Regions from separate parts of the Homo sapiens genome. Here all the other regions are linked to region 3. The links are contacts of gene promoters, found by promoter capture Hi-C in human tissues and cell types (Jung and others, 2019). All regions are on one chromosome and are shown on one strand. Each heading gives the region's core, a stretch centred on a gene start or on the middle of the fragment in contact. The rest is flanking DNA. Distances are from core to core; before and after follow the strand shown. Region 1 overlaps SYT2 (synaptotagmin 2). Region 2 overlaps KDM5B (lysine demethylase 5B). Region 3 holds the start of ARL8A (ARF like GTPase 8A).

The links. Contacts are between HindIII fragments. The study calls those that stand out against the background at their distance.
Region 1: a fragment that was not itself captured here is called in contact with the fragment with the promoter of ARL8A in region 3 in 1 of the 25 tissues and cell types used here (lymphoblastoid cells).
Region 2: a fragment that was not itself captured here is called in contact with the fragment with the promoter of ARL8A in region 3 in 1 of the 25 tissues and cell types used here (spleen).

Annotation. Positions count from the first base shown.
Region 1 is chr1:202,704,561-202,708,347 of GRCh38, forward strand. All of the region lies in intron 1 of SYT2 (synaptotagmin 2), which reads right to left. Among named protein-coding and RNA genes, the nearest start is that of SYT2, 4.0 kb to the right of the region's middle. The HindIII fragment of the contact is 4,055 bases long and covers 354-3,787 here.
Region 2 is chr1:202,726,988-202,730,928 of GRCh38, forward strand. KDM5B (lysine demethylase 5B) reads right to left here. Exons shown (of 27, transcript NM_006618.5): 25 at 3,922-3,941; 26 at 2,720-3,040; 27 at 1-2,186. The coding sequence ends at 2,049. Among named protein-coding and RNA genes, the nearest start is that of SYT2, 19 kb to the left of the region's middle. The HindIII fragment of the contact is 3,837 bases long and covers 1-3,169 here.
Region 3 is chr1:202,143,174-202,146,913 of GRCh38, forward strand. It overlaps ARL8A (ARF like GTPase 8A), which reads right to left and starts at 1,564. Exons shown (of 7, transcript NM_138795.4): 1 at 1,277-1,564. The coding sequence starts at 1,399. RefSeq lists silencers at 505-554, 1,055-1,764. The HindIII fragment of the contact is 36,256 bases long and covers 1-3,740 here.

The DNA.
Region 1 (3,787 bases), core at 1,131-3,630, 560 kb after region 3:
CTGGAGTCTCCGAAGGAGAGAAGCAGTCACACACCCACTAACTCCCATTCTCCCTGCCTTTGCAAGGGGCCCTCCTCCCCAGCCCACCCCTAGGACCCTGAATACACACATATGCACACACACACGGCTGCTGGGCTTCAGAGGAGCCGTTTAATTGCCGAGTTGAAACCTGCAAGGGCTTTTGGTGCTGATGACATCAGCATGCCATCACAGATAGGGCTGCTGAGGCTGGAGCAGCTCTGGATTCAGCGGGGTGTCCCATCATGCACTCAAGACTGCCCACCCTGGGGCCTCCCTCCTTGCTTCAGAGCAGGTGTTCCTGAAGGAGGTGCCAGAGCCCTTATGGAGAGCCCAAGGAAACCCAACATCAGGGAGGGAGAGCTGATTCAATTCCTCCAAGGAATCACTGCCTAATTTTTGTAAAGGCTGCTGCCTGATTTAAATCACCCAGCCTCCTGCTTCTACTCAACGCGTTAGTGGCCTCATCCCAAGGACCCGCACCTGTATTCTCGGGCTCCATTTGCCATAGGTAGAGCTGGTGAGAAGCGGCGAGGAGAGGAGGAAGGGTTCTGACCACTCAGCTGCTGTGGCCTGGAAGGCCCCCTGCAAAGTGCCTATGATCTGGGGATTTTGAACAACCACACAACTTCTCTGGGGATTTTGAACCACACAACTTCTCTGGGCCTTTGCCCGTTCATTGTAAAGTGGGGACAGCGATGGCGTAGCCGAGGACTGCAGTGATGAGAGCTTGACCGCCCTTGTGAGCCGCTCTATCCCCGAGCAGGGGAGCAGGAGGCGCAGGGAGGAGCCCTGAGGTTCCCTGTTGTGCGGGACCCACACTGACTTTGCCCTTTCTTATGCCTGATGCTTAGTGTTACTGACAGCAAAAGCTGAAATCCTGAGGTCCCCGGCTAAAGTGACCAAGGAAGGGCCTCTCCTGACTTTACAGCAGCAGGTAACCCCCCTTTCTTTCAGATTTGGAGGCTGCTTGGCCATTTTAATGGACCCTGCTACTCACATCCTACTTCCCTAAGTGTGAGGGGCTTTCAGAATCTAACCTCCTCCCTGGCACTCAGCCAGCAGGGACTTTATCCTCATCAGAAAATGATCCAGGGAGGAAGCTTCTACAATATCTACTGCTCATCTTGGATTTTGGGAGTCCTTTTTTTTTTTTTGAGACCGGATCTCACTGTTTTCCAGGCTGAAGTGAAGTGGCATGACCATAGCTCACTGCAGTCTCGACCTCCTGGGCTCAGGCGATCCTCCTGCTTAACCTGGTGTGCCACCATGCCCAGCTAATTTTTAAATTTTTTGTAGAGACAGGGTCTCCATATGTTGCCCAGCCTGCTCTGGAATTCCTGGGCTCAAGCGATCCTTCTACCTCAGCCTCCCAAAGCGCTGGGATTACAGGTGTGAGCCACTGCACCTGGCCTGGGGAGTCCTTCTGGATGTTTAATTTTAGACCCAGCCTCTCTAGGGGAGGGGGCTGGCAGCTAGGTGTTCCCCTGCCCTCCAGGCTCACAGTGACTCTCAGGTCCCTCTGGGCCTGGATCCAAATTTACCCATCACTCTGGCTACTTCCTTGAACTGTCAGTTCCAGAGATGAAAATGAAGGATTGCTGGGACAAATCCTTCCCAGAAATCAAGCTTTGGCAAGAAAAGACTCATTAGGCATAAAAACCGTCTTCGAGTGAGGGGGATGAAATGCAGGACTGACCACCAAGACGGTGAGGGCAACTCCTTCCCTTGAGTTTTAAGAATATCAAAGGTGGACAGTGCTCCCTGCAGCTGGAGAACCCAAGACAGTGTTGTGTGTGTGGGCAGGAAAAGGAGCACGCAGGCCACCCAAGGATGAAAAGCACTTACTCCTCCCGCGCCAGGCACTGTTCTACACGCTTTACAGGAATTAACCCATTTCATCCTCACCAAGAACAATCTACGTCATAGTTACAAATTTTAGCTCCATTCTACAGATGGCAAGACTAAAAAACAGAGTGTGATTGACTCGCCCAAAATCACAGCAAGTGGCAGAACCAGGATGAACCCTGGCAATCTGGCTGTAGTCACTATACTGCCACTTAGAAAAAAATCTCTGACTTGATGTTTCTCCAATGAAACTATATTATTTATCACAGGCTTCTGGAGTCCAGGAGAAGCCATAACTGAATCCCAGCTTCTCTGGCCTGGCTTCTCTGACTGAGTGGAAGATGAAGAATCAACTTGTTGCCTATGGATGGATTATTCACGTAGGGAATTTAGAACTGCATCTGTCTGGTGGTCCAGGGGCTACTTCTAAAATAACACGAATAGTTATCAGTTCTACAATACTACCCTGAGAGTTAAGCATTATTACCTCTGTTCTTTAGAGAAAACTGTGCAGACATTGTCAGATCATCCTGTTACATGCTCTCGAAGCTTCCTACATACCTTCATAACTCTTGGCACAGTCATGATGAATTCTTTATGTAATTATCTAATTGTGTGGTATTCACTAGATTGTAAATGCCACGAGGGCAGGAAACAGGTCTGTTTTGTTCCCACCTGAATCTCCATTGCCTAGCACAGATTCTCAAAATGCAATAGTGGAACGAATGCAGAAGGGATGCTGAGTGGCTCAGTAACATGTGTAGGGCCTGCGGCTGTGCTCACCTCCCCACCCAGAGAGACTACAATAGTGGCACATGGTAGGTACTCACTAATAAAATACTTGTTGCAAATGTCAGACTTTGTACTTAGCAGCCCTGGGATTTGAACCCAGGCCTGTCTATCTCCTAGCCTCCATTCTTTGGTGCTTCATATTTAACCACTGCACTGAGTGACCCTGCCCCCCCATTACTCCCTCTGACTTGCTGTTCCAGTTCTTAAAGAGTATCCCCACCACCCTGGACCTTCAGTGGTGGGGATACTCTGGCTTCAGCTAGGACCTGCCTAGACTGGGGAAGTCCACAGAGCAAATCCCAAAGCCAAGTGAAGTAGTGTTTCTACTCATCTGCAGCCTTAAGTCCTCCACGAGGATGCTTCTGTCCAGGGAAGGGAATGATGGTCATTCTTCCAGGCAAATGAAGCCCAACCTCCTCCCACTCTGTCCTCACTGCCTTCTGTCCCCCTGCTTCCAGTGCACTCACTGCCCCTCTATCTACTCTCCCCTGAGAGGGCGGCACAGGCCTGGCGGGGAAGAAAAAGGAGACCCCATTGAGATATGATAATGTTCAGATGGAGGCAGAAAGAATGACTAGAGGTCAGGCTTGCCTAGGGGCTGGGGAACACTGGGGTAGCCTGGTCCCCAGGGCTTGAGAAGGGCAAGGAAGAGGCTTCTCCAGCCACCTCCAAAGCCCACCCCCAGGTCTCTGCAGTATCATAGACAGCCCTGTCACACCTGCCTGGAAGCTGCCTAAGGGTAGAAGGAATAAAACGAGCTCCAGCTGCAATGTGAGGGCAGGTGAGCCCAGACCCAGCTCCAGAAAGGGTCTCCTCGGCCCTGCGAGGTCTTCAGCAAGGTACATGCTTTGCCCAGGTGAAACCAGCTTCAGTCCTAAATTGAAGCCAGTTGCAAGCTTCTCTAGGTGAAAAGTCAATGTTTACGAACACCAACACTTTTTGCTTCCCCTGGTCCTGTTCTGCGGATGTCAGACCCCAAAGCTGAAAAAGAAATGTTCCTGCATAATCACCCCCTTCCCCCAAAAGAAAACCCAAGTTCCCTGGACCAAGCTCCTGGACTGCAGAACAAAGCAGACTCCCAGCAGAGTGGTCTGGTCTCTCTTCCTCCAGGGAATGGTGGGCCAGGTCT
Region 2 (3,941 bases), core at 1-2,500, 580 kb after region 3:
CATGCCTACCTTTTCTAACTCACTCAGAGATACAAAGATCTGACTTCCTCAAAGATGCTATTGTCAGGGACTGTGTACCACCACCCACAGGTGAAGAAGAAAAACTAGTGGGGATGGGGGTAGGGGTTGTGCTTACTAAGATGGCAAAAGCTCTCTAAAGGCAGTGGCTTTATATTAGCAGCAGGGTCTCCTTTTAAGCTTAATTTCTCAATGGAAGGTGAGGACTGGGACAGTTGGCATCCTATCTCAAAGTCGGGGGTGATGGAGGGGATTCTAAGAATTTGAATACTAACAAGGCCAAACCACGATGATTCCAAATTGTACTCTGGAGACTATTCTTCTCTATTGGCCCCAGAACCACCATCAGACGAAGAGAAACATCACAACAACTGCAGAAAACTGCAGACAACTAGAAGTCATTCTTAAAGAGATTTAATTATTTGAAGTGCATAAAAGGGGAGGGTACATTTAAACCTCTGCTATATCACAAACTGCTGTTTTTGTTGTTGTTTTATTAAAGACCCACCAGTTTTACTCATCTTCAGGTTTATGGCTATAGAATGTGGGGAAAACAAAAATTGGCAACAGAATAGGAAAAGGTAAGCAAAAGTCTGGTCACCAGAATGTCTTCTCCACTGCAGAACAGACCCCTTTAAAAAAGAAAAGCAAGGAAAATAGCTATGGGCTATCCACAGCCAGTAATGATAGCTACAGTTAGAAAGAAATGAGAAAGGAAACCAGGAGGCAGAGTCTGGGAATTCACAAGTCTCCTCTCAAGACATATACTAAACCCGGACCTCTGTGAGGATTAATTTTCCTTAGATTTCCTTCCAACGTCTTAACCCTAAACCAAGTTCCCCTGTCAATTCAAATATAATAAAGGCAGCATTCCACAAGGAAGACTGATTTGAGGATTGAAGTGATTTGCCAACATTCTGAGAAAGCTTATTTTAAAAGAGCACGGCTTTAAAGATAGGTTCTAGTCCTTGAAGACAGAGGGGTTCTTTGTTAGTGAGGGCTGTAGGCATATGGCCCACCAAACAGAGCAGGACACAAAAGAAGAATCCCCTAATGTTGTTTGCAGGCTAACATCCACTGCTACTGCAACCTGGTTGGGCAGAGGCAAAAGCAAGCAGCCCCTTCTGGCTGTGCAACAGTAGAGGGGCAGAAGAAGCTGTGCTCTAATGGCTCTAAATAATCAGCATTTAGTGTTATGTTAGGACGAAGGATTTATTCCACAATATAAACTGTAACATTTGATACAAGCTACCAAAAAATAGGGGAGAAAGGAAGGGACAGGGAGAAAGCCAAAATACAGCTGTGGCAATTACTTACAGAGAAGTCTCTTTTCTACATCACTAGTTCATCAGTGACACTAGAAACTAGACATTTGTGTTCTGTACATCAATCAATCGCTAAAGCACCAACACACTGTTTGGAAGTTTGTTTTGTTTTGTTTTAATTCCAGCCACTGAAACCAACATAGAAGTTATTGCTCAGATAAATAAACCTAGTCTACCAGGAAGAAGAAAAGTGGATAAAGGAAAAGAAGAAACAAACAAAAACTCCCAAAGTGAAAAACTTAAAAATTTCCCCAATGTGGTAACAGAGTAAACAAGGGAGAGCTTCCTCAAATGAGGATTTACTGGAATTTCTGGTGGGTGCCCTTTTGGGCACTGGAAGTGAGTTGGACTCTTAAGCTGGTAAATCCCAGAGAGAGGTAAAATTTTAATGCTGTACATGAAAAGGTGCAAGCTTCAATGCCTTCCAAATTGGTGGGAACCCCTGCAAAAAAAACAGTCAGCTTTTCAAACCTCAACAACCACAAATAGCTCTTAAGGAAAAAATACAAAAAGTGTCAAAAATTTTTTTAGTTGTTTTTTCTTTTCTTCAAAGAGTCCTGGAAAAATGATCCCATAAGGAATAGAAATAGCACCGTTTACAGGCTGGCTTGAGTACCAGTCCTGTAGCTTTGCTGAGATTTGAAGAAATCCTCTTGGTTGGAGTCCTGAATTACATTAAGTAGGGGGGTATCTGTTTTTGTGTTTTTACTTTCGGCTTGGTGCGTCCTTCACAGTACAGCGCACACAGATGTAGTCTTCTTTCTCTGCCATCTCTGGGGAGACACCAACACAGACCTGATGAAACCACTGATTGCAGCTGCCATCACACTGGACCCAGTCCACCTGGTTACAAAGAGCAGGAAGATGGGGTTTTCAGAGGAAAAAATGGATTCAAAATTGGGCAGGCCAGCCTCAAGAAATTCAGGCCGTTTGCCAATAACAGCCACTGTCCCACCACTGGGACCTCTGGCACAACAGCTAAGCCAAATGAGTGTAGCTGGCCCCCTAGCCAAAGCAACCGAGTCAAAGTCATTCTTCAAGTCGTGTCTGCTTTGGGGTTAAGACAGCGCTGCCCTGTGATAAGTAAGCCAAAGGGCATCACATCAGCATCCCTCCCACCTTCTTAGCGCCGGGAAGGTGAAAGCTGGAAGAGCAAGAAAAGGAAAAAGGGAAGAACAAGAGTTTCTTCAAGAAAAGGGAGGAGACCCAGGAACGATGGTAAGAGCACAGATATCAGTGGGGGAAGGGCTGAGCAATCCATTCAGATCAGCTCAAAGCAGATAAGCAGAGGAGAAAGACCCAGCGAGATGAGGTCTAGCTTACAGGGTTTCTGAGTTAAGGGAAAGCACGTCCTCTATGGCCCAAACCTCACTGACCTCATCTCCTTCTGGCTGCAGGCAGCTCACAGCTGGGCAGATGGCATCTTCATCCTCAGAGTCTTCCTGTTCGGAATAGGATGTGTCTGAGGGCAGGGAATGAGTTTCAGCAGAACGAACTAATTCATAGCTACGCTCTCTCTCTAACTTGAAATTGTTCATGTCCTTGGGGTGGCTCAGTTTGATTTTCTTCTTTTTGGGGGTCCGCATTTTCTTAACTCGTTCCCACCGCTCACTGGAGAGGCCCTCTCTTTCCAGGCGTCTCTTCAGTTTTCTCTCAAGACTGTTAATTCCATCTCGCTTCCCTCGGCAACAGTCATTCTGGGTGGAAGATAGGAAAGTTCAATTTTCGCCTATGGGTCACCTATTACTAAAACTAATGAAGCTAAAGAGAACATGTAAATTAGAAATCAGATGATCCCCCAATCTACACGGGAAAAAAATACTGCATCTTAACCACTCCCCTCCCAGTCTTGTATAAGACAACCAGTTTGGGTTTAACATACTTCCTTCCCCTATCACTGTTAATGCTACCAAAGGATCACTGGAAAAAGGAATGTTAAAGACGTGATTACCCTTCCAATTAACCAACCAATACCAGAAGATGGAGAGGTGCCCACTAAGAGTCTTCCTTTCACCAAATCCCTGAATGACTAACTACTATAATAGTTTCTGTCTAGGTGTTTATGTCTATCCTGTGACCTACAGGCTCCTGAGGAACCACACTAATAATCTTCCTTCTTGAAGGATGTACACCCCCACACCTTATAGGTGTAAGGCGCATTAACTGAACACATTCAATGATTGTGCCATACTACTTGGTATGGCAAATGAAATTTGCCATGAAAAATGAAATTCTAAATGCCAACATCAGCCCTCATGCTATCTTTAGTGAAGTTCTTCCCTAATTTGGCTTCAGGCTTCCTAGTAGATTTCTATCCTAACTATATTCTCAGGGGCCTTAAATGTGATGGGTCAGTTAGTTCACTAGAAGGAAGTGGCAGCAGCCGCAGTATCCTTAACTATGTTAAGAAACAGGACATTAAGGAGTATCCTTCAACTAAGTCAGCATTCAAAATGGGTCATCCTCAGTCTAATCGCCCAGTCCTCACACCAGCTGTCTGGTTATGTTTCGAGGAGTAAAATAAAGCATACCCCCACCCCAGACTGTGCCTTGCCCCAGAAGCCTCTCAGACACTCACCTTCTCACTGCTGGGTCTCA
Region 3 (3,740 bases), core at 314-2,813:
TGCAGAGCATGTTTGGGAAAGGAAGCCAGTGTTCAATTGTGTAACCACAGGATGCCCGCCCCTCGAGCTTTCCATCTGCCTTCATGCCTCAGGTCCAATGAAGTGACGTCCCCTGCCTTCTAGGACGCTGAGAACTGTCGAGGAGGCCCATCTTCTGCAAGGTGGGGCAACAACACGGACAGGTAGAGGTACCTAGGCCGGCTGGATACATTCCTCTGCTGACCTATCTCATCAGTATCTTTGGTTACTATCTGGCCAACTCACAGTTGTGGGAAACCTCAGCTTTGGGACTGGGGCCAGGTCCCTGGACAACCCCAGCCCCTGTCCCATGCTTCCTCGACCCACAAGCCCTGTCTAGCCTGGCTCTGACAGGCAGGCCGCAGCCATTACGGCAGCCTCAGCTCACACCCATGGAGCTCATCTTCCCCTTTTTTGAGAGAGATTTTAACTCCTTCCCCACCACTCCCCTGGCGCTGAAAGACTTACAATCACCCACTTCAGTGTTGACGACCCAAAGCCCTTAGAGCCACTCTCCCAAGGCCCCAGTGGGCCGTGCCCCTACACCTCATCCTCTCTTGTCGGGAGCACCTGCTCCTGCAAACTTCTGAGCCAGACGGAGTCTCCAAACTCCCGTTACCATGCGATCCTCCCTGGACCCCCGGCTAGACACTGCGGGTCGGGGAGAAGTTGGGGAGGAGTCTGGGCTTGAGCCAAGGGCCTCAGCTGACTCCTCTACCCCGGGGGATACCTCCCCTCCCCCTCAATAGGGCCGGGGCTTCCTCTTCCGGCAAGGAGGGGTTAAGCCCTCTGGGTGGGGCTGGGCTTGCCCAAACCCCCTCCTCAAGCCTCTCGGCCGCCCCGTCCCGTGACCCTCTACCCGCGGGACAGGAAGGCCCGTGCACTTTCGCCCCGTCATGCCCCCTTGCGCGGGGGCCAGAGGGGGCCCGTCTCAGCCGGCAGCGGGTCCCTCCTGCTTCGAGAGCCCCTCGGTGCCGCCTGCCCCGTGGCACCGGCCCTGTCTGTTCGTCCCCCTTCCCCTGCCCCCAGCCGTGCAGTACCGGCCCGGGTGAGAGAGCGGGTCGCGCGCCGCCCCGGTCCCCCACGGCACGGGCCGTACTAGGCCCCAAGCGCTCGGGGCCGGCTCCTCCCCCGCCCGGCGCCCGGCCGTGCCCGGCTATGCCAGGCGGCGACCCCGGCTCAGCAGGGCGCGGCGCGGGCGGGGACAGGCCCGACCCGCGGCCCGCGCCCGGGGACCCCGCGCCCGACGCCCTCGTACCGCGATCACGTTGACGAAGGTGGTCTTGCCCGAGTACTGAAGCCCGACCAGCGTGAGCTCCATCTCCTCCTTCCAGAATAGGGCCTTGAACCAGTCCAGCAGCTTGTTGAACAAAGCGATCATGGTCGCTGCCGCCGGCCCCGCCCGGTGCCAGGTCCCCGCCGCCCCTCGCTGCCCTCGCGCTGCGGCCCGGAGCGGCCCCTCCCCGGTACGGCCCGGGTCCCGCGGCTCGGTGCGGGCGGAGGCTCGAGCGCGGCTGCCGACGACTCGCTGCCCCGGAATCGGCTCGCCGATGGGTGTGGCTTCCGCGCCCTCCTCCTCCGCCGCCGCCGCCGCCCTCCCTCGCGGCCGGGCCGTGTCCTGCTCGCACCCGAGCGCGCGCTCCTCCCTCGCTGGAGCCGGGGGGCCAGGGGCCGCACCCGCAGGTGGGGTGAGCAGGGAATCCGCAGGTGGGGTGAGCAGGGAATCCGCAGGCTTCAGCGGCGGGGGTTGACCGGCAGCTGGCGTCGAGAGGCGCTTGGGAAATGGGGTCTAATTTATTTTAGACCCTGTCCCCGACTGCCGCGCCCTGACTGGCACCCCCTTTCTTAAAGGGTGGTGGGCTCGAGGTGGGTGAGGTTCCGGTTAAGCAGGAGCCTTTTCAGGTTGAAGGAGAGTGGGTCACCCACTTCCCAGGACACGGAGATGAGATCTCTACGACAGGGAGGCAGATGGAGGCTTTTTTGTCCCTGAACCCTTGCCTCTGAGCATTCCTGGGTACAGTCCCATCCTCTCAAAATGCACCCAGTGCAGAGGGACAACCGTATTCGGGTCTTTTAATACTCCATCTTGTTTTGTTCACCACAATTTACCCCGACCACTTGTTAGGAAGCCTCTGGCCCCAAGTGAAACGGACGCTTGAACTTGCTCCGGATTTTTACCAGCATCCCCAAGATACCCAAACAGATACAGTCCTGGCAGGGGGTTTTCAGTGAGGAACGTCTGTGACAAAGGAAAATGTTGCCCTGTTTTGGTGAAAAGCAGAGTATTCTTCAGGAGGAGAAGTGATAGTTCTCCTCTTGAAGTGGGTCTGGAGTGCCTGCAAAGATGCCTTACTCCTGCCCCTCTCCTTGCAAGACCCACCCATAGGACCTGCTCAGGCAGGCTGACAACCTCAGCTGGCAGTCCCGGGTAGGCTCAGGCTTCGGGCAGTCCCCAGCCTATGCTGGCTGCCCGTTGGGGTTTGGTTTTCAAATGTAGTCATATGTAGTCTATTGTTTTAGTCAAAAGTGGGTAAACTATCAATATCAACCATATCTGTCCAATCAACTGGAGTTAGATGACCCCAAATAGTCAAACAGTTACCAAAGTAGAAGAATCACAAGGTTTCGGCTAGCATAATATTGTTTTTTTTTTTTTTTTTGATGGGGTCTCACTGTGTGGCCCAGGCTGGAGTGCAGCGGTGGGATCTCGACTCACTGCAGCCTCCACCTCCTCGGGCTCAGGTGATTCTTCTACCTCAGCCTCCCGAGTAGCTGGGACTACAGGCATGCGCCACCATGCCAGCCTAATTTTTGTATATTTGGTAGAGACGGGGTTTTGCCATGTTGTCCAGGCTGGTCTCGAAGCCCTGAGCTCAAGCCATCTGCCTGCCTCAGCCTCCCAAAGTGCTGGGATTACAGGCATGAGCCTGGCCAATATTCTGGTTTATTAAGCACCATCTTTCTAACCTCTGCCCTTTATAAGTCCTCCTCTAGCTCCTAAGATAAAGGCTATGGACTGAATGTTTGTGTCCCCCCAAATTCATAGGTTGAAGTCCTAATCCCTAAAGTGATGGTATTAGGAGGTGATTAAGTCATGAGGGTAGAGCCTTATAAAGGGGGCCGGTGGGATTAGGGGGAAGAATACCAGCCCACAACCTTTTCACCATGCAAGGACAGAAAGAAGGCTCTGCCTAATAGCCAGACACTGAGTCTGCAAGGGTCTTGATCCTAGACTTCCCAGCTTCCAGAACTGTGAGCAACACATTTCTTTTTTTCTTTTTTCTTTTTTTTTTGAGATGGAGTCTTGCTCTGTCATCCAGGCTGGAGTGCAGTGGCATGATAGCTCACTGCACCCTCCACCTCCAGGGTTCAAACAATTCTTCTGCCTCAGCCTCCCGAATAGCTGACTACAGGTGTGTGCTACCACGTCCGGCTAATTTTTTGTATTTTTAGTAGAGACAGCGTTTCACTGTGTTAGCTGGATCTCCTGACCTCGTGATCCGCCTGCCTCGGCCTCCCAAAGTGCTGGGATTACAGGCATGAGCCACCACGCCAGGCCAGCAATACATTTCTGTTGTTTAGAAGCCACATGGTTTACGGTAGTGTGAATTGTTACAGCTGCCTGGGTAGGCTATGAGGGTCCACCCTGTCTCACTTCCTAAATTGACTTTGGTTTCACCTTACTTTATGTCCTTGGAAGTGCTAGAAAAGTGCATATCCCA